Linked DNA regions of Homo sapiens: region 2 is linked to region 1. Evidence: promoter capture Hi-C in human tissues and cell types (Jung and others, 2019). All regions are on one chromosome and are shown on one strand. Each heading gives the region's core, a stretch centred on a gene start or on the middle of the fragment in contact. The rest is flanking DNA. Distances are from core to core; before and after follow the strand shown.

Evidence for each region. The method cuts DNA at HindIII sites, captures the fragments that hold promoters and counts their contacts. A contact is called where the count stands out against the background at its distance.
Region 2: a contact is called between a fragment that was not itself captured here and the fragment with the promoter of TPGS2 in region 1, in 2 of the 25 tissues and cell types used here (IMR-90 fibroblasts and lymphoblastoid cells).

The regions. Positions count from the first base shown.
Region 1 is chr18:36,827,636-36,830,335 of GRCh38, reverse strand. It overlaps TPGS2 (tubulin polyglutamylase complex subunit 2), which reads left to right and starts at 1,334. Exons shown (of 7, transcript NM_015476.4): 1 at 1,334-1,653. The coding sequence starts at 1,569. It overlaps KIAA1328, which reads right to left and starts at 1,209. Exons shown (of 10, transcript NM_020776.3): 1 at 1,140-1,209. The coding sequence starts at 1,197. RefSeq lists a silencer at 975-1,574 and enhancers at 972-1,764, 1,865-1,974. The HindIII fragment of the contact is 11,405 bases long and covers 1-2,700 here.
Region 2 is chr18:36,894,568-36,897,267 of GRCh38, reverse strand. All of the region lies in intron 5 of KIAA1328, which reads right to left. Among named protein-coding and RNA genes, the nearest start is that of KIAA1328, 67 kb to the right of the region's middle. The HindIII fragment of the contact is 3,326 bases long and covers 1-2,700 here.

The DNA.
Region 1 (2,700 bases), core at 85-2,584:
ACATGATTTCATTTGCTTTTCACCAACCTATCAGAGACAAATGGTAATTATGTCTAGTAAGTGCAAACACTAAACACGAGCAGCACAGAATACAAACATATCCCTCTCTCTACACATGACACTAATCCTAGTAACTCAACAAAGGAGTTGATAACACAGTTTTGTAAGTTTCACTGGGAGCTAAGAAGAATGCCCAGTGATTCTGCCAAAGGTAACAGCAACGCCTCAATTAATGCCATCACCAATCCTAGCAAACACAAAAAGAGCTGCCTCTGCAAGCACTCAGTAACACAGATTGCCGTCCCTCTTTCAAGTAACCCCTCTAAGGAACGTGAAGTAAATTATCAGGACCAAAGCTCAAGCGAGAAGAGTCTACCTACTCCAAGGAAAGAAACACTCCTGTCACACAAACATCTCATCACTGCTGCTGAACTGGTAATACTACCACTGGACTAAAAAGTTCCACTGCTTCTCCACCTCACAACGATCCAAGAACTTCAATGACTGCCAGTGACCCGCACTCCACAAGTAAGTCAACAATACTTCCAGGCACAATGATTCCCATCTTACGCAGTAACCAGCACCACCAGACCACATCCCAGTAACCAAGCTCCACACCTCTCCTAAAACCCCAGTATTAAAATACATCATCACTGGAGGGCCTTTTAAGTCCGAAAGGTCCTGACTTGCTCCTAGCAATGCAGACTAAAGACAATCCTAAATCAAAACAAAAAGGCTCCCTGTCCAGCCAACACCGACTCCTCCCTCAACTTCGAGCTAGCTCCGCACACTCAAGTCAGCCTGGGGGCACTCTGACAGGGTGGGCAGAGGGACCTCGGAGGGCCATCTCAGCCCTGGACTGAGCCTGGACTCAAGGCTATCTTTCTCGAGCTCACCGGTAGTGAGCGCTGGGAAGCATCTGAGCCGTGTCCCCACACCTGCAGACAGTACCAGTCTCTCGGCCACCTAACACCCAAGCAAGGGGAGAGCCCAGCACCTAGACTGGGGCCGAGCAGCACGTCCCCATCCCCGGGGTTAGTTCGGAGCTTCTCCTCCGCTCTCGGACTGCCACGCGACGGCTCGCCCCTCGCCGTCCCGTGGAGGGCGCCGGCGCCCCCTGTCAGGCGGGCAAAGGATACAGTCCCGGCTCCAGAACGCCGCGGCACTGGGGCGGGAGGGGCCCGCCACGTCCGCCATCTTGAAACAACCGCCACTCGGGGCGTCGCGCCTGGGCCGCCACGCCTCGGCCTGCAGGCTCGGTCCCCATTGGCCGCACCACGCAGAGGCCCGCCCCCGCCTGCGCGGCCGGCCCCTGCGGGGCGAGAGGGTGGGGGCGAAGGGGAAGCTACGTCCCGGAGGTGCGGTGTGGGGCACCGGGCGGGGCCGCGGGAACCGGCGCCCCACGGAGCTGCTGCTGTCAGACCAACCCCGGGCCCCCATCATCACTGCGCCGCGCTTTCAGGCGCCGAGAACTACCGTTCCCGGCATGCCATGAAATTGGCCTCGGCGCTGAGGCGGGGTCCGGCCCTCCACCCGCTCCCGCCGCGCGCGAATCGCGGTCGCGAGCCATGGAGGAGGAGGCATCGTCCCCGGGGCTGGGCTGCAGCAAGCCGCACCTGGAGAAGCTGACCCTGGGCATCACGCGCATCCTAGGTGAGGAAAGGGGGCACGGTGCCGAGAGGGTGTGGAGGAGAAGGAAGGAGGAGCGGAGGGATGAGGTGCGGGGTGAGCGGTGCGACGCTGGCCCCAGAACAGGAGTGGACATCGCTGCTGGGACTTCCGTTGTTACAGAGGAAAGTGGGGGACCTGGGTTTGTGATTAGGCCTTGAAAGTGTTTGCCAGGAGTGTTCGGAGGCAGAGCTGGGAAGCCTGAAGTTTCCCCCACTCACCGCCAACCAAGGTCCCACCCAGGAAGGACGGGCAGAGACGTGCAAAGGGAACACAGCAAGCACCTGACGGTTGGGAAGTTGGATCTCCCCCTAGGAGGCATTCTCAGCCAGGGCATTATCCCCGAAACCCAAGACCTTTCTCTGGGGGAAGTAATGCACCCGACCTCCCAGGGCGACAACTACGTCGGGTCTGAAAGGAATCCAACCTTGCACCACTGAATGACTCAGAGTTTTTCTTTTATCGAACATTTCTTTGTTTGCTTGCTTGTTTGTATTTTGAGACAGAGTTTTGCTCTTGTTGCCCAGGCTGGAGTGCAATGGCGCGATCTCGGCTCACTGCAACCTGCGCCTCCTGGGTTCAAGCAATTCTCCTGCCTCGCCCAGCTATTTTTTTGTATTTTTAGTAGAGACAGGGTTCCACCATGTTGGCCAGGCTGGTCTCGAACTCCTGACCTCAGGTGATCCACCCGCCTCGACCTCCCAAAGTGCTGGAATTACAGGCGTGAGCCACCGCGCCTGGCCTATCAAACGTTTCTTTAGTACTCACCACTATGTTAGACGTGAGGTTAAAAATATGAAAAAGACACAGTTCTGTGAAAAAAATAAACAAATGAGGTCACTAGGAGTGTGAAAAGAGGTCAGTAATCTGTTACTCAGAGATGTCACAGAGGAGGGGACTGATCTTACCAGGGAAGTTAAAGAACATGTCACAGAGGAGATGATGCTAGATTTTGAAAGACATATAGGAGTTAGCCAGAAAACTAAGGAGGAGAAAGGTCTTTTAAGAAGGCTGAAAAGCATGCTTCAGTGC
Region 2 (2,700 bases), core at 140-2,639, 67 kb before region 1:
TTTCTCCATTTGGCTCTGCTCTTCATAAGCCTGAGGGTTCAAGAAAATAAGATGCTCAATAGCCTGGGATTCTGTATTAAGAAAAGATAATAAAACTGGGGGAAGATGATAATCCTTACCATCTTCCATAGGAAGATACAATTCAGATATTCTGTTGACTTCTAATTATTTCATGAGCATAATTATATTCACTACTTCTGAAAAATTAGTTTTGAAATGCAAAATCTTGAGTACAATTTTTTTTAATGTTACTGCATAAGTCTCTAACTTAAGTGAGAGTATTACCATCTAAATCATTTATTCATAAGTTAAGGCCATCCTAAGGTTAAGAATACTAAGACAAATTTGCTACTGATTAATAATAAAGTCACTCACTATATTCTTCAAATGTAAAGCAATTACAAGCTGTGGTATGGCAAACAGATGTAGCTGAAAAGAGTACATCAGATAGCCCTTTAAGGAAAATCAGTAATGTAAAAGGCTAAACAATAATCCTAAATAATACCCTGAATGATAATTATGAGATTGATTTATTTAAAGTCTATTTCTTCATACAAGAACTGTTGAAACTTTCCAAAGTAATTTTAAATGATGCTATACAGGTTTAGTACCATTTATCCAGAACAGAACCATCACTGAAAAAAAGATAATTAAACAAAGATGCAGCAAATAAATGTTTTTTGAATTTCAGTTTGCTGAGCTTATTTACATGTGGGTATCAAAAAGAAATGAAATCCTTAGCCACTAGAGCCAGGTGAGAAGCCCCAATCCACATTTATTTGAACTGCAGTGTCACTCACTATAAAGCAACATAGAAGTTGCTCTCTGAGGATGTTAAGGTTCCACGTCTGGAGCCTTCAGTAAATCGAAGACATCAAAACCAAAGCAAAATCAAGCTTGGAAAGTTAAGCTATTTTTTTAATTATAAAATGAGTACATCATATATATTAAAAGGGTCTTAGCTAGTAAGGCAACAAGATTGCCAAAAATCAAATCTCATCAAAAAATAATACAAAATGATATTTAAAAATTATTGTTCAAAAATGTATTAACACCCAACCAAGAAAATAAAGCTAAAATGATCAGAGAACGATATCTGAAAATACACTAATATTAGAAACACTACCCTCCACAAATACACTGAAAAGCCTTCTAAGCTGATAATTAGAATAAAAATTACCAAAGAACTAAGTACATATTAAGTACTGCCTTAGTCTGCTCAGACTGCCATAACAAAATACCACAGACTGGGAGGCTTAAACAACAGATATTTATTTTCTCACAGTTCTGGAGGCTGGAAGTCCAAAATAAGGTCTGATCGGGTTTGGTTTCTGGTGAGGGCTCTCTTGGCTTTCAGGCTTCTACCTTCTTGCTGTGGCCTCACACAGGACAACGTGGGGGTGTGGTGTGTGACAGAGAGATCTCTCTGCTCTTCTTCTAGGACAACAGTCATTGGATTAGGGCTCTACCAGTATGACCTCATTTAACCTTAATTGCCTCCTAAAAACCCTATCTTCAGCTACATTCTCACTGGGGGTTAGAGCTTCAACATATGAATTTTGAAGGGACACAATTCAGTCCATCGCAAATTCTTAAGTAACAAATAAATACATAAGCAAACGAACCTTGCTAAGCCCAGAATAGCAGGCAAAGGGGCTGAAAAGCACCATCTCTTCTCACACTACTCCAAAAAATACATGTTTAGCAGTTAGATAAACTTATTAGAATTTTTAAAAAATATTTGTCTCATTCTTACAGAAGAAAAGCTGAAAATCAGAAAAGGTGCTAGAAGATATGAAGCAGATCTTTAAAATCTCTTCCAGCCTTAAAACAAATCCCAAAACATCCCTTCACATAGACGCCCTTTGGCACAACAGTATCTCCTTTTCCTCGTGGCCTTCACTTTCTCACCCCTACTCTAGCCTAAAGCCTTTGCAAAGCAGCTTATTCTTCTAAAATGTCATTGAAATGCTCCTGCATTCAATGACTTACCAAAGTCACAAAAGTATAAAGTAGCTGATCCAAGATCTCTTATAAGTTTTCTTACTAAAAATCCAGGACTGTTTCAAGTACACAACAGTGCCCAAAGAACCATAAGAAGATACGCAAGTTAGGGCAGCTGGTACAGGTATGAATGCTAGGAGCCAAATACTATTTTTAAAAATGTACTGGGGAAGATGACTTTAAAAATTTTTGAAGAAGGAAATTAGTAAAACAAGCAATGACAAAGAAACAGAAATTAGATGTAATAAGTAGGAAAACCCAATAAGTCTTTCTTAGCTGGTATGTGGGGGCCATAAAAATGAAGGTCACACATGTTACTTGACACTAGTAATGGAGGGCTTGAATGTCAAAATCAAGAATATGCATTTGGTCCTTTAGGCCATAAGAAGCTGTGGAATGGTATGAAAAAGCCAAGTGATGTAATAAAAACAGAACTTAAAGCCAGACACAGTGGCTCACGTTTGTAATCCCAGTACTTTAGGACACCTAGGTGAGAGGATCGCTTGAGCCCAGAAGTTCGGGACCAGCCTGAGCAACATAGGGAGACCCCGTCTCTACAAAAATACAAAAATTAGCCAGGTGTGGTGATGCATGCCTCTGGTCCTAGCTACTTGAGAGGGCTGAGGTGGGAGGACTGCTTGGGCCTGGGAGTTAAAGGCTGCAGTGAGCCATGACTGCACCACTGTGCTCCAACTA